2 separate regions of the Homo sapiens genome follow, and region 1 is linked to region 2. The links are contacts of gene promoters, found by promoter capture Hi-C in blood cells and fetal thymus (Javierre and others, 2016). All regions are on one chromosome and are shown on one strand. Each heading gives the region's core, a stretch centred on a gene start or on the middle of the fragment in contact. The rest is flanking DNA. Distances are from core to core; before and after follow the strand shown.

Region 1 (6,569 bases), core at 952-3,451, 880 kb after region 2:
CCCCAGTAGGGACTCTGTGTGGGGGCTGTGACCCCACATTTCCCTTCCGCACTGTCCTAGCAGAGATTCTCCATGAGGGCCCCACACCTGCAGCAAACTTTTGCCTGGGCATCCAGGCATTTCTATACATCCTCTGAAATCTAGGTGGAGGTTCCCAAACCTCAATTCTTGATTCCTGTGCATCTCAGGCTCAACACCACGTGGAAGCTGCTAACTGAGCTGTACGTAGGCCCCTTACAGCCATGGCTGGAGCAGCTGGGACACAGAGCACCAAGTCCCTAGGCTGCACACAGCACGAGGACCCTGGGCCTGGCCCACGAAACCACTTTTTCCTCTTGGGCCTCTGGGCCTGTGAATGGAGGGGCTGTCTCAAAGGTCTCTGACATGGCCTGGAGATATTTTCCCCATGGTCTTGGGGATTAACATTAGGCTCCTTGCTACTTATGCAAATTTCTGCAGCTGGCTTGAATTCCTCCCTAGAAAATGGAATTTTCTTTTCTATTCCATAGTCAGGCTGCAAGTTTTCCTCTGCTTCCCTAATAAAATTGAATGCCTTTAATAGAACCCAAGTCACCTCTTGCATGCTTTGCTGCTTAGAAATTTCTTCCACCAGATACCCTAAATCATCTTTCACAAGTTCAAAGTTCCACAAATCTCTAGGGCAGGAGCAAAATGCCACCAGTCTTTTTGCTAAAACATAACTAGAGTCACATATACTCCAGTTCCCAACAAGTTCCTCATCTCCATCTGAGACTACCTCAGCCTGGACCTTATTGTCCATATTGCTATCAGCATTTTGGACAAAGCCATTCAACAAGTCTCTAGGAAGTTCCAAATTTTCCCACATTTTCCTATCTTCTTCTGAGCCCTCCAAACTGTTCCAACCTCTGCCTGTTACCCAATTCCAAAGTGGCTTCCATATTTTTGGGTATGTTTTCAGCAACACCCCACTCTACTGGTACCAATTTACTGTATTAGTCTGTTTTCATGCTGCTGATAAAGACATACCTGAGACTGGGAAGAAAAAGAAGTTTACTTGGACCTACAGTTCCACATAGCTGGGGAGGCCTCAAAATCATGGCAGGAGGTGACTTCTTACATGGCGGCGGCAAGAGAAAAATGAAGAAGCAGCAAAAGCAGAAACCCCTGATAAATCCATCAGATCTCATGAGACTTACTCACTATCACAAGAATAGGATGAGAAAGACTGGCCCCCATGATTCAATTACCTCCCCCTGGGTCACTGCCACAACACTTGGGAATTCTGGGAGATACAATTCAAGTTGAGATTTGGGTGGGGACACAAACAAACCATATCACAGTCTGACAGTAAGATTGGACTAATCATGTAATATATGATAGATATATCATAGAAATAGAAATCAGTAAATGATTAAGGTTGATTTAGATTAATATTTGAGATTGTTCCAGCCAAAATATGACACAGACATCAACAAAAAAAATGGCACAGTCTATCCAAGGACCACACCAGCAGCAAGGCAGGTGAGGGTCAGACCATATGGAAACTTGGGCACCAAGAAAAAGGAGACTGAATTCATCATAACAGCCATGAAATGCCATTGAAAAGCTTGTAAAAGAATATAATATAATTAGCATATGGTCAAGTAATTCCATTGCTAAGTATATATCTGAGAGAAATGAAAACACATCTACGCTCAAAAACTCTTATATGTGAGGCCAGGCACAGTGGCTCATGCCTATAATCCCAGCACTTTGGAAGGCTGAGGTGGGCAGATCCTTGATGTCAGGAGTTCGAGACCAGTCTGGCCAACATGGTAAAACCCTGTCTCTACTAAAAATACAAAAATTAGCCAGGCGTGGTGGCACATACCTGTAATCTCAGCTACTCAAGAGGCTGAGGCACAATAATTGCTTGAACCCCAGAGGCAGAGGTTGCAGTGAGCTGATAGTGCCACTGCACTCTAGCCTGGGCAACAGAGCAAGACTCCATCTCAAAAAAAATAACAAAAACTCTTATATGTGAACCTCTCAGAAGCATTATTCAGAATAGCTGAAAAGGAGAAACAGCCCAAATGTCCATCAAGTGACTAATGAATAAACAAAATGTGATATATCCATGCAATAAAATATTATTCAGCCAAAAAAAATGAAGTACTAATACGTGTTACAACATAGATAAACTTTGAAAACATAGTAAGTGAAAGAATCTAGTCACAAAAGACTATGTATTATATGATTGTATTTATGTGAAATGTCCAGAATAGGCAAATCCATAGAGACAGAAAGTAGATTCGTGGCTGCCCAGGAATGGGGTGTGGGGGAACAGGAGGTGACTGCTAATGAATACAGGGTTTCTTTTTGGGATGATGGAAATAATCTTAAAATTAGATTGTGGTGATGTTTGCACAACTCTGTGAATATATTAAAAAGCATGAATTTTATGCCTTAAATAGATGAATTGTGTGGTATGTGAATTATATCTCAGCAAGTTATTTTTTAAGATGTAATTAAATTTATGTTTTGGAAAGATCAGCCTGGCAGTCATGTGGGAAAAAATTAGAGGAGTATAGAAATGAATGCAGAAAGGCCAGTGAAGAGGCTATTTTTACCATCAACGTGGTTATGAATGACAGAAGGCACGAGTGGAGGTGGTGGTAGAGAAAAGTGAATCACTCGAGAGAGACTCAGAAGGCACAAGACACAGGAGTTGGTGCTTGGTTGGCTACGTGCACGAGGGTGAGGGGGAAGTCCAGCATGACTCCCAGGTTCTAGCCAGATGGAGAAGTGCTACACTCACCACATTAGAGCAGAGTGCAAGAGGACCAAGCTTGCTTCTGTGCACAGGGTTATTACGAATTTAGCTTGGAGGTACTTTTGAGACATTCAAGCAAAGATGTTTAGCAAGTAGAGAAAGTGCTACAACAGACATGTGTGGGTAACCTTCATGTAGCAATGAAGCTCTGAGATTGGGTGAGACCACCTGGGAAAAGAGGACTGAGCCTAAAGAACTCACTCTGTTTCAATGGCTGGATAGAAGAGGACAAGCTGAAGAAAGGCCACGAAATGTAGGGGAAAGCCAGGGACGTCATCAGGGAACACCTGGGCTTCAAGAACCATGGATCTGTGGCATTGAATGGTGCTGTGAAGTCAAGGAAGACAGAACTAAACTGTGTGCACTGGATTCAGTGACATCGTGTTTTGGGGGCTGTCTGAAAGAGCTGCTTCCCTGGAATGATGTGCCCAGAAGCCAAATTGTGTTGGGCTGGAGAGTGAATAAGAGGGGAGGAGATGGAGATTAGGGGTCTTGGGTTAGGTTTTTCAGATGCAGACTGGGACATTCAAGTGCAAGTGATTGATTAAAATGCCCCAAGAAAATGCCAGTCAGGGGAGGGAAAGGAGAACAAAGAAGACAAGAGAAGGAGGCCAACCAAGGTGCAATCTCAGGAAACGCCAGCAGAGTGTGGCTTCAGCCGGATCCTGGATCCCACTGGAGAGCTCTGTGGTGTCAGTTGTTCCAGCCTGAGGCGAGGGAGCGTGGCTTTCAAGCATTGCCCCTGAGTCACCCTGAGTAAATTCTAGGAACTTCTGGAATGTACTGAAATTACCTAGAATATATTCCAAGGCCTTCTGGATCTGTGGAGGGTGGAGGTGGGAGCTGAGTGGTTCTCATAGCCCAAAGGCAGTCCTCATGAAGCCATAGTGCTGGGTGTTAGAAGCAAAAGCACGCTGAAGGGGGGCAGGCACACACACAAAGCAGGGATTCAAAGGTCTGGGTGGACAGCCAACACTGTCTGATACATCAGATAAGAAAACATTATTTTGAAAAGTTTGACTTTGAAGAATAGGAGAAAGACAAAATCATAGCTGGAGGGGAAAAGGGACAGTTTTGATTTAATGGGAACAACTCACAAATGTTTAAAATCAACATGAAGAGTCAAGTTGAAAGAGAGAGGTAAGCTATTCAAGAAATGAAAGGATAATTGATCATAGAAGAGTTGAGAAAGAAGAAAGAGAACAGGTGCAAAGCACAGATGAAAATGTTGGCCTTCCGTTGACAACTTGCAAAGGGCACTCAAATACAGAGCTCATTCAAACCTCACAAAATCATGGGAGACTTTTTTAATGTGCCTACTCCATGCAGCCTTTTTTTACATGAACTATTTCATTTAATCCTGATAACTCAGTGAGGTAAAATACTATCACTTTACAGATGAAGAAACCAAAACTCCATTAGAATTTTGATTGGCTGCATGTGACTGGAAACTCCAAGAAATAGTAACATAAACAAGTTAAAAATTTGTTTTTTATCTCATGTAAAAATGTCCAGTGGCAGGCAGTCTTGGCTTGGTATGGGGCTCCTTGATAATTAAGGACACAGGCTCTTTCTGTCTTGCTAATGCAGCCATCCTGATGCATGGCTTCCATTCTCAAAGTCACCTTGCGGCCCAAAAAGCCCTCTAGAGGTCCAGCCATTACATCCCAATTCCAGGTAGTAGCAAAGTGGTGAAGGAGAAGGATCTAAAGTACCATATAATGATTCCACTTATTTCTCTTTTACCAAAATTTAGTCTCATTATCACACCCAGGTAAAGTTACATCTAGATTGCAGTTCTTTAGCTGAATCCACCGCTGACTGAGTGAGTTTGGGGTTCTGTTGCCAAGAAGGAGTGAGAAAATGGGATAGGAAATCAGCCCTCTGAAACACTGAGTAATTTGTTGAAAGCTATCTGTACTATCTCCACTACTCTTCAACATGTACTATAATCTTAGACAGTACAGCTAGATAAGATAAACTAAGCAGAATCATACAAATTTGAAAAAAGTGAAACTATAGCTATTTGCAGATGACATGAAAGAATACCTGGAGAATCTTAGAGAATCAATGATAAAACTAGCTCAAAAGATTCAAATAAGATAGCAGGATAATAAAGCTAATGTACAGAAATCAATAGTCTTCATATACGTAAGCCATAACCAATTAGAAAGTTTTATGATAAAACCTCATTCACAATAGCAACAAAGAAGGTATAGCAATAAACTTAAGAAATGTGCAAAATCTACATAAGAAAAACTTTAAAACAATTCTAAAAGAAAAGTTGACATGAACGAATGAGAGACATACTATATTTTTATTTTCTATTATTATAAATTTGAAAAATCTTTGTGGGTAGATAGCCATTGTAAATATTTATGGGGTACATGAGACGTTTTGATACAGGCATGCAATGTGAGATAAGCACATCATGGAGAATGGGGTATCCATCTGTCCCCTCAAACATTTATCTTTTGAGTTACAAACAATCCAATTACATTCTTTAAGTTATTTTCAAAATACAATTAAGTTATTATTGACTATAGTCGTCCTATTGTGCTATCAAATAGTAGGCCTTATTCATTCTTTCTATGTTTTTTGGTACCTATTAACCACCTTCACCTCCCCCACAATCCCCACTCCCCTTCCCAGCCTCTCATAAACATCTTTCTACTCTCTCTGTCCATGAGTTCAATTGATTTTATTTTTGGATCCTACAAATAAGTGAGAACACACCTTGTTTTTAAATAGGAAGAATCAATATCATAATGATATCAGGTATCCTTATTTTATAAATGTAATATCCATTCCAGCAAGCATTTTTATGTAGCTAGAGATATTAATACTGAAATTTATATAGAAAAGCAAACATGCAAGAATGACCATTAAACACTGGAAAAGAAAACACTGAAAATGGAATTCTATAAGGAAGGACTATCCCTACCAGACATTGGAACATACTATAAAGGTTCCATAATTAAAACAGTGTGGTACTGGTGCATGAGTGGATAAACTAATGAAGTGGAATAGAAAGTCCAGAAATAGACCCAAATACATATGGAAATTTAGCATATAACAAAGCAGCATCTCAAATCACTAGGGCAAAATTTACCTTTTAATAAACAGTACCTGCATATCTAATTAGCCATTTAGATTAAGAGAAAATTAAATCTATACTTTAGACCACATACTGAAATAAATTCAAAATGGATTAGGAATCTAAATCTATTAATAGGTCTCCACCCCCAGGCTACACCCATTCTCAGGCCTTCCGACTCTGAATACATCATTGGCTTTCCTGGTTCTCCAGGCTGTAGGTGGCATAGTGTACGATCTCTCAGCCTCCATAAGTGTGAGCCAGTTCCCATAATCAATCATGTATAGTCTCCTATTGGTTCTGTTTCTCTGGAGAACCCTGGCTGGTACCACGACTTCCAGGAGGTGAGTAGTAATGAGGGTTAAAGGGTGGGGGTGGGAGCAGGGTGAGGAGTTTAGGGGAAGGATAATTTCCCGAGTGTGTACCTTTTGGTATAATTATGTTATAGCATATATGTAGAATCACGTTAACGTTTCACATATCCAAATAAAAAGGATGGGTAGATAGACAGATAGATAGATAATTAAATGAGAAGGAGTAGGAAAATACCCAAAATTGAAAGTAAGCAGAAATAAACTAACCTATTTTCAAGTAAATTATATAAATACACTGAAGGGGGTTGAACACTTACTGGAGTAACTTTTGAATTCAGAATTTTGACCATATACCCTCAAGCTA
Region 2 (5,735 bases), core at 1,954-4,453:
TTGGGGTATGGTGTGAGAATCTGGAGGAAAAAACACTGGGTGGCAGAGGCCCCAGAGAGCATCCTCTGCCCATCTCAGCCAGGCCAGGAGGAAAGGCAAAGGACACTAATAATTTTTAAGTTACCTGCCCCCCTCAACCTCTACATCTTTAATTACACCCCCTCCAACCATAAGCCACACAGTAAGGGAAACTTCTCCTGCTTTATTTTTTTTAATTTTTATTTTTTGAGATGTAGTTTAGCTCTTGTTGCCCAGGCTGGAGTGCAATGGCACAATCTCGGCTCACTGCAACCTCCATCTCCCAGGTTCAAGCCATTCTCTTAGCCTCCCAAGTAGCTGGGCTTACAGGCATGTGCCACCATGCCTGGCTAATTTTTTGTATTTAGTAGAGACAGGGTTTCACCATGTTAGTCAGGCTGGTCTCAAACTCCTGACCTCAGGTGATCCACCTGCCTCAGCCTCCCAAAGTGCTGGGATTACAGGCATGAGCCATCGCTCCTGGCCTTTCCTGCTTTAATATTTGACTTAACTGTCATGGCAAGAGCACTGAGATGATTTCTTTAGCTTTTTTTTTTTTTTTTCCTTTTTTCTTCTGCGAGAATCTCGTAGTGTCGTCCAGGCTGGAGTACAGTGGGGATCTCGGCTCACTGCAAACTCCGCCTCCAGGGTTCAAACAATTCTCCTGCCTCAGCCTCCTGAGTAGCTGGGATTATAGGCACCCGCCACCACACCCAGCTAATTTTTGTATTAGGGGTTTCACCATTTTGGCCAGGTTGGTCTTGAACGCCTGACATCAGGTGATCCCCCCGCCTCAGTCTCCCAAAGTCCTGGGGTTACAGGCATGAGCCACGGCGCCTGGCCTGAGATTTCTTTAGCTTTGTAATTCACCTTTAGTAATTCCATTTCTTTCCCACTAGCAAAGAAACCCTTACAGCACAAGGCTCTGGATGGTGGCACAGAGCTGGGCCCTGCCCTGAAGTTACCTAGAAAGGAGGAGAAGCACAAAGATTAGATTCTATCTAGTTAGATAAAGCATGATGTACTGAGAAAGGGAAGGAACAGACCCTGGGGGAAGAACATAGGAGTTAAAAAGTAGCTGTCCTAGATTCACTTTTCTTTCAGGAAGCAAAATCATCCCATCGCCTGGGGTTTAACTGTTGTCAAATAGTCCTCTTCCAATGCCCCCGGCAGAATGCCACAAGTCCAGGTTTGAGAGCTTTGAGGCTGGAGGCTGTGGCTCTCCTGGGGGCTTGCAGTGATGCCCTAATGTAGAGAACACTCATTGCCTCTGGCCCCTGCCCACCTCTAGGCCTCCTGGCACTTAACTCACATAGAGGCCTTTTTTGAAGTGTTTCCAGAAGGACTTTTTTTTCTTCTTCTTCAGAGCGCTGGCTTCTCACATCCAAGTCTTCTGTCACCTCCCCAGGGGGCACTTACCTGACCACTCAGCTAAATCAATGTAGCTTCCCTGTGCCCATCCGAGGAACTCAAATATCTCCTTCTTAGCACTCATCTTAATTTCTTATATTTTATTTACTTGTTTATTATGTGTTGTCCCACAAGAGACGTAAGCTCCAGGAGACAGACCACCTGTTTGTTCCCAGCTGGGTCCCCCAGGCTCCTGTTGTAGGGCCTGGCCTAGAGTGATGAATATTTGCAGTGTGAATGCAGGGGTGGATGGAGTTTCCCATATTTTCAGTCACCTGGGTGGGCCTACATCCCTAGGAAGGTACACAACACATCCTGGGAAGGACTTTCACTGATTTGGGGTTCCAGGGACCACCCAGGAAATGACATTTTTTTTTTCAGACTGAGTCTCACTCTGTTACCTAGGCTGGATGATCTCAGCTCACTGCAACCTTTGTCTCCCGGGTTCAAGCGATTCTCTCCTGCCTCAGCCTCCCTAGTAGCTGGGACTACAGGCGTGTGCCACCACGCCCAGCTAAATTTTGTATTTTTAGTAGAGACGGCGTTTCACCATGTTGGCCAGGCTTGTCTCGAACTTCTGGTCTCAAGCGATCCGCCCACCTGGGCCTCCCAAAGTGTTGGGATTACAGGCATGAACCATCACGCCTGGCCCAGGAAATGATTCTTAACTTTTGCAGGGTCTAGGATCTCTTTAGCTATTTGATAAAACCAGTGGACTCCCTTTCTCAAAAACATGAATATGCATTAAAAACTCTGCTTACATCTAGTCTATCTGGTAAATATAATTAAAAGAAAAAAGAAAAAACTCTGTTTACAGCTTGGGGGTTTAGAGACTCTCAACGCCCTAGATTTAAGAAAAGTCAAGGGGAGGAGAGATTGGAGAACGAACTTTCTACACCACAACTTCTTAGGAGAGACTTCTTAAAAGGGGGTCGTGCTGCCGGGCGCAGTGGCTCATGCCTGTAATCCCAGCACTTTGGGAGGCCGAGGCGGGTGGATCACCCTGAACGCAGGAGGCGGAGGTTGCAGGGAGCCGAGATCGCCCCACTGCACTCCAGACGGGGCGACAGAGCGACACTCCGTCTCTAAATAAATAAATAAATAAATAAATAAATAAATAAATAAATAAATAAATGGGGGCCTGCTTAAAATGATCTTTGCCCTTAGACTGCAGAGCTTACTTTTTAAAAAGTGAAATGGGGGCAGAAGGGGATAAGAAAACGCTTCTAGTTCTTTCTCTTCCAACTGCTCCCTCCCTAGGAGGCTTAGGATAAGGCAGCCCCCGGCACTTTCTGCGAGTGTATCGGAAGTATCTTTGCCAGGTTTGATAAACGTTTGCGGAAGGAATACAGGACACACTCGCGCGGCAGAATCGCGAAAAGTCCCCGGTGTTCTCCGCGCAGGGAGTTCCCCGCGCAGGGAGTTCCTAGCGGGCCACGCGCTCTCGCCTGACCACCCGCGCCGAGCTGCGGGCTGTCGGGGTACAGACGCCCGCGCGCGCAGGTGCATTCGCTCCAGGTGCGGCCGGCTCGGGGCGGGAACAGCTGCAGCCGAGGCGGGGGCGGGGAGGGGGTACAGAGGAGAGGCAGAAAGGAGGGAAGAGGAGGAGGAGGAGGAGAAGGGAGGAGAAAGGGGAAAGGAAGAAAGAAGGAGAGCAGGAGGGCGAGGAGCGGGGGGAGCGGGGAGGAGGGCGCGGGGAGGAGGCAGCGGGGAGGAGCGTGCAGGGAGGAGGCAGCCGCGCTGGGAGGAGTCTGCACACTTTCAGTGCCAGGGCATTGTGGGAAGCAGCCATGGTCTAAGCCGGGCGCCTCACCTGTCAGCCGCACCGGCTCCAGCGCTCGCCTCTCGCCCTCGCTTCTCCAGCGCTCCTTGCTCGCAAGGCGGGGGAGGCGGCGGCCCAGCCACGATGGTGAGTGCGGGGGAACCGCCGGCCCGGGTAGGCGGTGGGGGCGCTCGCGCTCCGGGGAGGCACCTGGGGCGTCCGGGCCGGGCGCGCGGCCGGGTGGGGGTGCGGGCCGAGTCCCGCCTGGCCACCCGAACCGTGCGTCCCTGTGGCCCCGCTGCCCCAGACGGTGCGGACGCGCCAGGATCGCTTGCCCGGGATTCCTGCGGCAACGCGGCGCCGCGGCGCCGCGGCTCCATTCATTCATTCGATCCGCCTTAGCCGAGTGCTTAGTCTGTGCCGGGCTCGGTGCTGGGCGCTGGGGATGTCGCGGGGGACCAGGAGGAGCCCCTGTTCTCCAGGAAGCTTACCTTCCAGGAGGGGGATGCGGAGGGAGGGACACGTCCAATATACAAGTAAAATGAAGAGAACTTCTAAAGTAAGAAGCGCTGTAAAGTCTCAAATACAACCGGGTGGAGTGGCAACTTTTGATTTGGCAAAGCCTCTTCAAGGACATGACATTCTAGCTGCTGGAGGTCCTGGAGGGGCGCTACAGGTGGATTAGAGAGAGCAAAGCGGAGGGGAGAAGGCCTTGTTTGTGGCAGGAGAGGTGGGCTTCTGCCAGGTGAGGCGGGTTTTTATAGGCCAAAATAAGGAGTTTGGTTTTGGTTCCAACTGAGTAGGGGAAACCTCGGGGACGTTTTAGCAAGAAAACTGACCTTACCCGTTGTGCACTTTTGTTTTTTTGAGACTGATCTCGCTCTGTCGCCCAGGCTGAAGTGCAGTGGTGTGGTCTCGGCTCTGCCTCCCGGGTTCAAGCGATTCTCCTGCCTCAGCCTCCCGAGTAACGGGGATTACAGGCGTGTGCCACCACACCCAGCTAATTTTTGTATTTTTAGTAGAGACGGGGTTTCACCATGTTGGCCAGGCTGGTCTCGAACTCCTGACCTCAGGTGATCCGCCTGCCTCGGCCTCCCAAAGTGTAGGGATTACAGGGGTGAGCCACTGCACCCGGCATGGTGTGCAGTTTGGCTGTGGTTGGAGAATGGACTGGGGTGTGTAAGGGCAGGGGATAGGGGGTCAGGTTGGAAGCTGAGGCCGGCCGCAGCCCTGCTGATGAGAGATCTGGTGACCTGCACTTGGGTGGAAGCGATAGCTCAGGCTCCTCTTGCTCTTGCCTGCTGTTTAGGGGCAGCCTTTTAAGAGTGTGGTGGTCTGAACGTCACTAGTCCCACTTCCCCAAGTGTGTTACCACTTCCCAAATCCGCAGAAGGGAAGTGACCTGCACCCTGTGGGCCCACCGGAGGCAGGAGTGGGTGGGCCACGTGGGCTAAGAAAGTTGATCAACAAAGAGAGCCGGGGAGTGCTGAGCACCTGGCCAGCAAGACCGCAGTTGCTGGTTTCTGTTAAAGGTTTGGCTGCACACACTAGCGGCATCATTTTTGTCTGTTGAGGGTTCCTTGTAAATACAGCGTGATGCAAAAACAATGCTGTAAATAATGGAGCAGGTTTCTTGGCTTGCTCAAGTTTCCCAAGGAACAAGGTGACAGATGCCCAGTCCACCAGTGTAATTTGCCTAACAGAGGCTGGAATAAGGCCCTGCGTTTCTGAGTCATCAAAGGCTGCTTTTGTGCTGAGGAATGGGCCAAGGTTTGGTCTATAAGGAAAAGCTGCTCCTCTGGACAATACCTGTGGTGGAGTTTTATTTTTTCTTGCTGGTGTCATATGTGTGATGAGTTGATCAGAAATGTGGGAAGTTTCTCCAGCTTTTCTACCAGTTTTTGCTAAATGGGAAACATTATTATTATTTTTTTTTCTTCGAGACGGAATCTTGCTCTGTCACCCAGGCTGAAGTGCAGTGGCATGATCTTGGCTCACTGCAACCTCCATCTCCCGAGTTCAAGCAATTCTCCTGCCTCAGCCTCCTAAGTAGCTGGGATTACAGGCGCCCGCCACCACGCCTAGCTAATTTTTGTATTTTTAGTAGAGACGGGGTTTTGCCATGTTGGCCAGGCTGGTCTCAAACTCCTGACCTCGTGATCCACCTGCATCGGCCTCCCAAAGTGCTGGCATTACAGGCATGAGCCACCGCACCTGGCGGGGAAACATTAATGTTATTGGGCATTTGTGATAAGACAAGCAGGATGTCCTGCTCTTTATATTCACGATCTCATTCAATCCTTGCAACAAACAATTGAGGTTAAATCTGTTATGCTCATTGCATTTTAGCTACTCTGAGCTATTCTAGCAGTATGGCCTTGGACAATTCCTTGACCTCTCTGTCTCAGTTTGCCCATTTGAAAAATGGAGATAATATCTCCTAACTCATAAGGCAGAGGTTCTGAAAGTGTGACCTGGGTACCCCCAGCAGTCCCCAAGACTTTTACTGGAGGTCTGCAAGGTCAAAACTATTTTCATAATAATA

What was found. Contacts are between HindIII fragments. The CHiCAGO score rates a contact against its expected background, and 5 or more counts as called.
Region 1: a contact is called between a fragment that was not itself captured here and the fragment with the promoter of AP1S3 in region 2, in 1 of 17 cell types (M0 macrophages). The highest score is 6.1, in M0 macrophages.

The regions. Positions count from the first base shown.
Region 1 is chr2:222,956,464-222,963,032 of GRCh38, reverse strand. No RefSeq gene overlaps it. Among named protein-coding and RNA genes, the nearest start is that of ACSL3-AS1, 40 kb to the right of the region's middle. RefSeq lists an enhancer at 2,551-2,650. The HindIII fragment of the contact is 1,221 bases long and covers 1,591-2,811 here.
Region 2 is chr2:223,835,050-223,840,784 of GRCh38, reverse strand. AP1S3 (adaptor related protein complex 1 subunit sigma 3) reads left to right here and starts at 3,203. Exons shown (of 5, transcript NM_001039569.2): 1 at 3,203-3,337. The coding sequence starts at 3,335. RefSeq lists enhancers at 2,657-2,836, 3,707-3,796 and silencers at 3,007-3,136, 3,167-3,596. The HindIII fragment of the contact is 4,145 bases long and covers 1-3,678 here.